Linked DNA regions of Homo sapiens: region 2 is linked to region 1. Evidence: promoter capture Hi-C in 16 types of primary human blood cells and fetal thymus (Javierre and others, 2016). All regions are on one chromosome and are shown on one strand. Each heading gives the region's core, a stretch centred on a gene start or on the middle of the fragment in contact. The rest is flanking DNA. Distances are from core to core; before and after follow the strand shown. Region 1 holds the start of BMP2 (bone morphogenetic protein 2). Region 2 overlaps HAO1 (hydroxyacid oxidase 1).

What was found. The method cuts DNA at HindIII sites, captures the fragments that hold promoters and counts their contacts. A CHiCAGO score of 5 or more calls a contact.
Region 2: a fragment that was not itself captured here is called in contact with the fragment with the promoter of BMP2 in region 1 in 1 of 17 cell types (endothelial precursors); the score reaches 5.0 in endothelial precursors.

The regions. Positions count from the first base shown.
Region 1 is chr20:6,766,124-6,771,082 of GRCh38, forward strand. It overlaps BMP2 (bone morphogenetic protein 2), which reads left to right and starts at 1,563. Exons shown (of 3, transcript NM_001200.4): 1 at 1,563-2,752; 2 at 3,997-4,349. The coding sequence starts at 4,004. LOC105372517 (a long non-coding RNA gene) reads right to left here and starts at 1,361. Exons shown (of 4, transcript XR_937229.2): 1 at 1,198-1,361; 2 at 277-682. RefSeq lists promoters at 1-2,617, 1,427-2,068, 1,458-2,617, cis regulatory regions at 531-1,321, 1,328-1,427, 2,068-2,242 and silencers at 1,507-1,556, 1,647-1,696. The HindIII fragment of the contact is 17,330 bases long and covers 1-4,735 here.
Region 2 is chr20:7,915,422-7,920,002 of GRCh38, forward strand. All of the region lies in intron 2 of HAO1 (hydroxyacid oxidase 1), which reads right to left. Among named protein-coding and RNA genes, the nearest start is that of HAO1, 23 kb to the right of the region's middle. The HindIII fragment of the contact is 2,314 bases long and covers 1,041-3,354 here.

The DNA of each region.
Region 1 (4,959 bases), core at 313-2,812:
GTGCAATGACTCTGAGTGACAATCAACTTCTATAGCACCTTTTTTTTTTTTTTCAGGAAATAAAGTAGCATGTTCCTGAATAATTCCCCCACCCCCTTTTATTTTCCTGGTAGTCAGGCTTCCTCCAAAATACCTTATTTGACCTTTATACCTTTAGAAACAGCAAGTGCCTAATTCGCCTCTGTGGGTTGCTAATCCGATTTACGTGAGCGGAACCTAGTATTATTTTAGCTCCCCTACCGAAAAAATAATACACATGGATAATAGTTCTATTACCAGCTCCTGCTTCTGACTTTTTTCTCTCTGTTTCGCAGGCCCGATAGCTCTGGGAAAGCAGAACTTGGCCTTTTCCAAAAATTTTCTGCCCTTGGTTTTGGGGATCATTTGGGCAAGCCCGAGGTGCTGTGCATGGGGGCTCCTGGAATCCTGGGAAGGGCAGAAAGCCTTGGCCCCAGACTCATCGTGCAGCAGCTCTGAGCAGTATTTCGGCTGAGGAGTGACTTCAGTGAATATTCAGCTGAGGAGTGACTTGGCCACGTGTCACAGCCCTACTTCTTGGGGGCCTGGTGGAAGAGGGTGGCGTAGAAGGTTCCAAGGTCCCAAACTGGAATTGTCCTGTATGCTTGGTTCACACAGTGCGTTATTTTACCTTCCTCTGAGCTGCTAATCGCCTGCCTCTGAGCTGGGTGAGATAAATATCACAAGGCACAAAGTGATTGTACAATAAAAAAATCAAATCCCTCCCATCCATCCTTCAGTCTGCCACACACGCAGTCTACGTTACACACATGTCACGTAAAGCAGGATGACATCCATGTCACATACATAGACATATTAACCGAAATGTGGCCCTTCGGTTGCATATATTCTCATACATGAATATATTTATAGAAATATATGCACATATTTTTGTATATTGGATATATTTATGTAACTATAAATTTACATGCGTATGGATATGAAAATAAATGCATACACATTTATGTAAAAAAATTTGTACACATGCATTTACATATGTAAATACATACATCTCTATGTATTAATGTTTAAAAACACTCAATTTCCAGCCTGCTGTTTTCTTTTAATTTTCCTCCTATTCCGGGGAAACAGAAGCGTGGATCCCACGTCTATGCTATGCCAAAATACGCTGTAATTGAGGTGTTTTGTTTTGTTTTGTTTTTTGAAATCGTATATTACCGAAAAACTTCAAACTGAAAGTTGAATAACGGGCCCAGCGGGGAAATAAGAGGCCAGACCCTGACCCTGCATTTGTCCTGGATTTCGCCTCCAGAGTCCCCGCGAGGGTCCGGCGCGCCAGCTGATCTCTCCTTTGAGAGCAGGGAGTGGAGGCGCGAGCGCCCCCCTTGGCGGCCGCGCGCCCCCGCCCTCCGCCCCACCCCGCCGCGGCTGCCCGGGCGCGCCGTCCACACCCCTGCGCGCAGCTCCCGCCCGCTCGGGGATCCCCGGCGAGCCGCGCCGCGAAGGGGGAGGTGTTCGGCCGCGGCCGGGAGGGAGCCGGCAGGCGGCGTCCCCTTTAAAAGCCGCGAGCGCCGCGCCACGGCGCCGCCGCCGCCGTCGCCGCCGCCGGAGTCCTCGCCCCGCCGCGCTGCGCCCGGCTCGCGCTGCGCTAGTCGCTCCGCTTCCCACACCCCGCCGGGGACTGGCAGCCGCCGCCGCACATCTGCCGCCACAGCCTCCGCCGGCTACCCGAACGTTCTCGGGGCCAGCGCCGAGTGGATCACCGGGGACCGCGAGGCACCCGCGCGCCGCAGACCCCGCGCGGGCTGGAGCACCCGGCAGAGCGCGCCACAGCGCCGTGGCCTCTGCTGCCCGGGCTGCGCCAGAGCCGCGGACGGGCGCGCAGAGCGCCGGGGACTCCGGAGCCGATCCCTAGCGCCGCGATGCGGAGCACCTACTGCAGGAGATCGGGGGCCTGGGACGCGCTGGCCGAGGTGTGATCGGACCCCAGGCTAGCCACAAAGGGCACTTGGCCCCAGGGCTAGGAGAGCGAGGGGAGAGCACAGCCACCCGCCTCGGCGGCCCGGGACTCGGCTCGACTCGCCGGAGAATGCGCCCGAGGACGACGGGGCGCCAGAGCCGCGGTGCTTTCAACTGGCGAGCGCGAATGGGGGTGCACTGGAGTAAGGCAGAGTGATGCGGGGGGGCAACTCGCCTGGCACCGAGATCGCCGCCGTGCCCTTCCCTGGACCCGGCGTCGCCCAGGATGGCTGCCCCGAGCCATGGGCCGCGGCGGAGCTAGCGCGGAGCGCCCGACCCTCGACCCCCGAGTCCCGGAGCCGGCCCCGCGCGGGGCCACGCGTCCCTCGGGCGCTGGTTCCTAAGGAGGACGACAGCACCAGCTTCTCCTTTCTCCCTTCCCTTCCCTGCCCCGCACTCCTCCCCCTGCTCGCTGTTGTTGTGTGTCAGCACTTGGCTGGGGACTTCTTGAACTTGCAGGGAGAATAACTTGCGCACCCCACTTTGCGCCGGTGCCTTTGCCCCAGCGGAGCCTGCTTCGCCATCTCCGAGCCCCACCGCCCCTCCACTCCTCGGCCTTGCCCGACACTGAGACGCTGTTCCCAGCGTGAAAAGAGAGACTGCGCGGCCGGCACCCGGGAGAAGGAGGAGGCAAAGAAAAGGAACGGACATTCGGTCCTTGCGCCAGGTCCTTTGACCAGAGTTTTTCCATGTGGACGCTCTTTCAATGGACGTGTCCCCGCGTGCTTCTTAGACGGACTGCGGTCTCCTAAAGGTAGAGGACGCGGGCCAGGGCCCGGGGTGGGTGGTGGGTGGGAGGGGGATTTGGGCAGCCACTGCGGTAGAGCCCTTCCTTACGTCCAGGCCAGAAGTAAACAGACCCCTCTCCAGTCCACGTGCAACGGAGCCCTGCAGGGGCTCCCACTTCCAGCTGCCCCGGGCGACCGTAAGCCTCACCCTCCCGGCCCGCACTCTTCCACCCCTCTTTCTTCCCCTCTCCCTGGAATACTTTTGGAGCTGTTAACACTTAGATGAGGTGTTTTATTTATTTATTTATTTATTTTTAATTTTTTTAAAAACTTTTTTGGGTCAAAGAAATCCCTTTGAGAGGGTAGCCCCTGGGTTTCACCCGTTAGCTGAGAACCTGTCCGCTCTGCCATGGTGATCTCCATTCTTCAAGTGTTTCCGGGAGACTTGGTTTCTTTGCTCAGAGCCGTGTCCCATTTAGGAAAGTACTAGGAGTTTGGGGTTCTCCCTACTTGTTTCCAGAAATGCGAGGGGTCAGTACTGAAGGATCACTTGGTACTGTGTTTTTAACAGCTGACACGTGCATTAATAGATATTCACCATTTACGTAATCCCGGGAAGATACATGTGTATCTTGACTGCACTGTGGGGATGCGGGATGGAGCTGCCTTTCGAGACACCCCTGAGGGTAGGGGCCTGGGACACAAGTCATAAGTGGCTTCAGAAGTTGTGGCCTTGAGCTTACAGGGTCTGGAAGCTATAAGGGTGTGTGTGTGTGTGTGTGTGTGTGTGTGTGTGTGTCAGGAAGTTCTATACAGTGCCTCTAAGGAAGTCACATGCACCATTTATGTGTGTTTATATGCCAGACAGCGCTCAGCACTCCGCATTTGGGTTTGTATAGGGGACGCAGGGTGTCAGATCAAGCGGTGGTTTTCCCAGGTTCCCGGCATTGGCTGTCAGCGCTGTGTCACACACAAAAAAGTGACAGTCATTGGCGCTGGTTTGGTTGGGGGGGAGGGCAAATCCCAAATCTGATGTCAGACGAGCTAAGCGTTGGATGGGAGCGATAAATCATCTGGTTCAGGAACTTGGGACCCTTCATTATCCCAAACGTTTGAGCTTCGGTCGGTCTTACCTAGACTCGTGAGTGTGCCAAGCCAGGAGGGCATCCTGGAGGAGGCACGCCAGCCAAATGGGAGACCGGGCCGCGGGGGCGCGAGGGGGGAGGACTGGGCGGGGAACTCGGGTGACTCACGTCGGTCCTGTCCGCAGGTCGACCATGGTGGCCGGGACCCGCTGTCTTCTAGCGTTGCTGCTTCCCCAGGTCCTCCTGGGCGGCGCGGCTGGCCTCGTTCCGGAGCTGGGCCGCAGGAAGTTCGCGGCGGCGTCGTCGGGCCGCCCCTCATCCCAGCCCTCTGACGAGGTCCTGAGCGAGTTCGAGTTGCGGCTGCTCAGCATGTTCGGCCTGAAACAGAGACCCACCCCCAGCAGGGACGCCGTGGTGCCCCCCTACATGCTAGACCTGTATCGCAGGCACTCAGGTCAGCCGGGCTCACCCGCCCCAGACCACCGGTTGGAGAGGGCAGCCAGCCGAGCCAACACTGTGCGCAGCTTCCACCATGAAGGTGAGGCATGGAGCAGGGCGTGGGGGCGGGGAGTCACCCTGCAAAGCCCTCCACCGTGGGCAGACTGCAGCCGTCCCTGTAGAGGCAGCTTGGCCGGGGCACCAGCGGACGTTTCCACTCTTGCTTCTGTACTATCGTTTCTGAATCTGATTTTAACTCACTGCTTGTGTGGTGGGGGAGCCAGGGATTCCCCTTTAGTAACTCCGCACCCTCTTCCTGGCTTGCAGCCAGAAGAGCTACTCCTCCTGGAAGAATTGGAGAGAAATCAAGTGATGGGGAAGATGAGGGCAAAAGGCATGCCTCTAGTCAGCTAAACGTGCAAGAATTCCACAGAGGGAAAAGGAGAAAAAGGGAGGCAGATTGAGATTTCTTTAAGTCTGTTTGGAAGCTTTTGCTCTATAAATCTGCCGCTTAAGCCAGGGTTTTAGGGTAGACAGAGCCAAGGGCAGAGTTTTCAGAGATAGTATTGAAAAATCAAAGCCCAGGGCCCCAAAGTCTTTCTAATTTATAGTTGATCTGGGCCTGGTTTGGAAGATTTTGAATCCCAATCTAATCCCCGTGGGAGATCAATACTACAATCAATCTTATTGTTTCCACAATGACTTTCTTG
Region 2 (4,581 bases), core at 948-3,447, 1.1 Mb after region 1:
GAAAAAGAAGAATTCTGCAAGGAGCCTGCCTTCAGACTGGAACTGCAACATCAACATTTCCCTGGTAGCTTGCCCACCTACTCTGCACATTTGAACTTGCAAGCTTCCACAAACACATGAGCCAATTCCTAAAAATGTCTATCTATGGATAGGTGTTTTAGAGATAAAGATAGAGATAGAGAGATAGACTTATGTATGTATCTATCTGTATCTATCGAGAGAGAAAAAGATGAGAAATCTCCAAGGGGGAGATCCTATTAATTCTGTTTCTCTGGAGAACTCTGGGTATTACAATTTTAAAATAATATAGACATAGAAAAATGTTTATGATATATAGATATATTAAGGAAAGAAAAAAGTTTACAAAATGACATGTATTACATGATATCAAATTTGTACAATTCTACTTATTGGTAGATGAATCTAAACAAACTACATGCTAATGATGGGTGGGAGAATTATGGGGTTAGTTTAATTTTTTTCTTCCTTTTTAATTTTAAAATTTTGTCTTTCAAAATTGTATTAAATATATAGTTTACCATTTATGTTGTCTTTTAAAATCTCATAAAATGTGTGTGCTAGATATCCCAAGTAGACACATCCTTTTGAGCAAGGTAGCAGTTACATTTTGGGGGGAAAGGTAGCAAGAAACGGGCAAATAAATGGAAAATTAAATAGAGTCATCTAACTAATAGTTTTAGAGGGTACTTGAGAGAACATGAGTGATAGGTAGGCTTTCTTCCAAAAATTGGTAGTAAAATTGGAGTAAAATTGGAGTCAGCCTTAGTGGAGGAGAAACTGATATAATGTTTATATGCAATATATAAAACAGTCAAATCTGTTATAAAGTATAAATATATTAGAAGTATAAATATATAAAAGTATATTATGTAAAACTCTATTCCTTCAAGTCATTTGACTCATCTGTGTGCCTACCATGCATCAAATGGGTATAAATATACTTGTCCAAATGACACTCACAGGATGTTGATAGGAATCCAGTGAGTTGCTGCTTATAAAGCTATAATGAGAGGTTAAAAAGCTTCCATGATTCTCAAACTTTAGCAGGACAATCCCCTGGAGGGCATGTGAATGAAACACAGATTTCTGGGTCCCACCCACAGAGCTTCTGGTCCAGTAAGTCTGAGATGTGGCCCAAGAGTTTGCATTTCTAACCAGATTAGGCTGATGCTAGATCACACTTTGACATTTAAATAGTACCATAGCCATTAGATAGTAAAGGTCTAAGTTCAAATGAAATAAAATGTATTTTGTTTTTGATAAATGTTAATTTTTCAATGCCTTTGAAGATGTTTTTCATACATGTTCTCCCGGTCAGTGGTTAGCTACAGAAGATCTGAGTTGGAGGTCATCATGTCTATAGATCACTAGTCTGTTCTCCCAAAGAGTTCCTTCTATAGGAATTCATGACTGGCAAAATATTGTCTAAAACCCACATTTTATTAAGTAAGAACACAAATGAACATATAGACCATTGTCTGATTTTCATTAAGATTTGGAAATGTGGAAAATAAATTCAGGTCACTTACTGCTGTTTGAAAGGAACACCAAGGGACATTGATTGCTTGGATCAAAATCCTCCAACAATCAATTCACCTGAAATAAATTATGTCCTGGCCAGGGTTGGTGGCTCTCATCTGTAATCCCAGCACTTTGGGAGGCCAAGGTAGGCAGATCCCTTGAGGTCAGGAGTTCAAGACCAGCCTGATCAACATGATAAAACCCTATCTCTACTGAAAATACAAATATTAGCTGGGCGTAGTGGCGCATGCCTGTAATCCCAGCTACTCAGGCGACTGAAGCACTAGGATTGCTTGAACCCAGGAGGCGGAGATTGCAGTGAGCTGAGATCACACCACTGTACTCCAGCCTGGATGACAGAATGAGACTCCCTGTCAAAAAAAAAAAAAAAAAAAAAGTCCTGAAGAGGATGTTACCTAAGGTCACACAGAAATGAGCAACAAAGTAGGAGAACTCAGCATGGCTGAGCACTCTCCCAGGGCAATGATCTTTCTAGACTCCCTACATGTCTAAATGACTCCCTGGTACCATGCCTAGATAAATGTACTCCCTCAATATTTCAGGGCAGTGACATCCAAGAGAGTAGGTTTGCCATGTGCATGAGAGACACTGCCATGCATTGGGAAGGCATGGAATCTTAGAATCCAGTGGGAAGGTCCTCCGTACACTGGAGGTGCAGAGTGTGGATGCACAAAGGGGTCTGGCAGAGAAAATCACTCAGATGATAGGGCATGTTTTTGTAGTTAATACAAAGACATCATGTAGTCAAGCAGCAGCTCTGCCAATAGGAACATCAAAATCCACAAAAGGATTCCCTTGAACTCATGAGAAATATCTACAGACACTCCACACAGATTACCAAAATGCTGCAAAACACACATAATTTCTACTTCTCTTAAACCATCTGACTTGCAGGAAATGTAAGCCCTTCACAAACATTTTACCCAAATCACTTGGGTATGCATATTTAGAGAGAAGCAAGTTTGGTCCATACCATCTATTTCTTGATTCTACCTTGATACAAGTAACTGCTGGAGTTATTGCTGCTCAGTGATTATTTTCCAATAAGTAAATCATACATGGCTGAAATTTTGAATTGGCATCCCCAAAATTATTCCAAGAGAATGCTCCTGCATGTAGGAGGAATATCAGAGTCTGTGCTAAGGTATTATCATTTGAAGCTAAAATACTAGTCCTAGGAGAAAACAGGAGCAAAACAGCAGGCTCCCTTCTCCCCAGAACAAATATGAGTGATCACTCTGATCTCAATCCACTTGTGACTATTTGCTATGACAAAGGAAAATTATTGATGAATTACATTCATTATTTTTAATACAGTTTTATGTTAGAATGAGCTAAGGGAGCCTGGGAATTTATATGAACCATTCAGAGAGGCAATAAAGAATTTGCCTATTTCTTAAGGACAGATCTGAGATGAAGTTGGTACATACCAGAATGGCAATTATGTTTGTTAAAATATTAAAATACTTACACTCCAATTGGTAAATAGCCACGGCTCTGAAGTTTATCACCCCAGCCCCCGAGTCTCTTCAATATGTCGTTGTGCTTCAATATGTCATCACTTCCTTTTCTCCCCAAGGAATCCCCAGACTTCCTCATAATCCAGCAACTTAAACATCAGTGCCGGCAGAGCGGGGGGCATCCACCCTGTTAGAGCGCTAGAGACCAGCAGCTGAGTATCTCTTCCAATTGCTCAAAGTCCTTTGCTAAATAATTCAAATATTACCTTTGCCTGAGAGACAATGATAAACCCTTTGAGTTCACACTGCTCATTTTGGGGTAATACTTACAAGCTTCAAAATTTTATAAATGGCGTAGCATGGTCAGACTTCATCAAAAAGTTCTGACTATCGTTATCCTAGCCTATGGCTTGAAAGCACAAATGTTTTAAGCCCTTTTACTCACCTTATCCATTGTCCACAATGAAATTCTGACTCCCTGCTCCCAAAGCAGACACTGTCTCATTGCATTTTGCAAAGGACAGGGGTTGGATTTCATTCTTGCTCCCAATGTGTGGCTATGTATTAGACTGTAACGGAAGATTCCAATGATATGTGTTGCAGTTTTAAGATGCCTGGCAAAATGGAGCTCACAGCTGAGGTCATATTAACATAAAGGCAAAACCTGGCTCTTGCCTAGAATGAAGTTCCCTAATGTTGATCCAAATCTAAAAATCTTGGCTTTTGTAATAGACGGTATATCCTAAAGATGAAATACCTAGGAGCCTACACCATCAAGTAACACTGATCTTGTATGAAATCCCAGGACTCTCTTCTCTTACTCACTGACTCTTTCATTGTCCTTAAGACATATCTTCAAAGATAGACACCTACACTTTTAATGTTACAGATATATTCAGACTTTATTCGTATGTTTGGCATTTCTTTCTCTTCTTTAATTAAACAGTGATACACTGTGCCATTGCTATAAGGAAATTGCATATGACACACACACACACACATACAATCACTAAAAGGGACACTGGCCAGGTCTCAGGTATTGAAGCATCAAAGATAAGGCTACCTATATAAACTGGGAGATAAAACTTTCATTTCAGAACAACAACAGGGTAGAATGGATTGAAAGCCTGTCCTAGAGTCCCAGTCTTGCCATCCATGAAGTACGTTCTATCTGCACAATTGCTATAGCCACAGCTGTTCTGCCTACTTCATAGCATTGCAAGATCATCTACTGGGGCAATGTTTCTGAACGTTTTCTGTGTAATCTCTGAAGCCATGCAATTGTAAAGGGTAAGGTGAGAGGACGCCTAATGCATTTGGAAAAATAAGTTCTGGATAGCTTTGTATGTATTTCTAATTTTGCCAAGGACCTGAATTTCTTAATGTCATTATTTGTTAATCTTCTCCACAGCCAGCTTTCCTTTGCAATTATTTTTAATTTATTTATATTTATTTTTAATTGGAAAATAGTAATTGCACATGTTTATGGGGTACAAAGTGATGTTTTGATCTATGTATACATTGCAGACAAATTTAGACAAGCTAATGACCATATTCA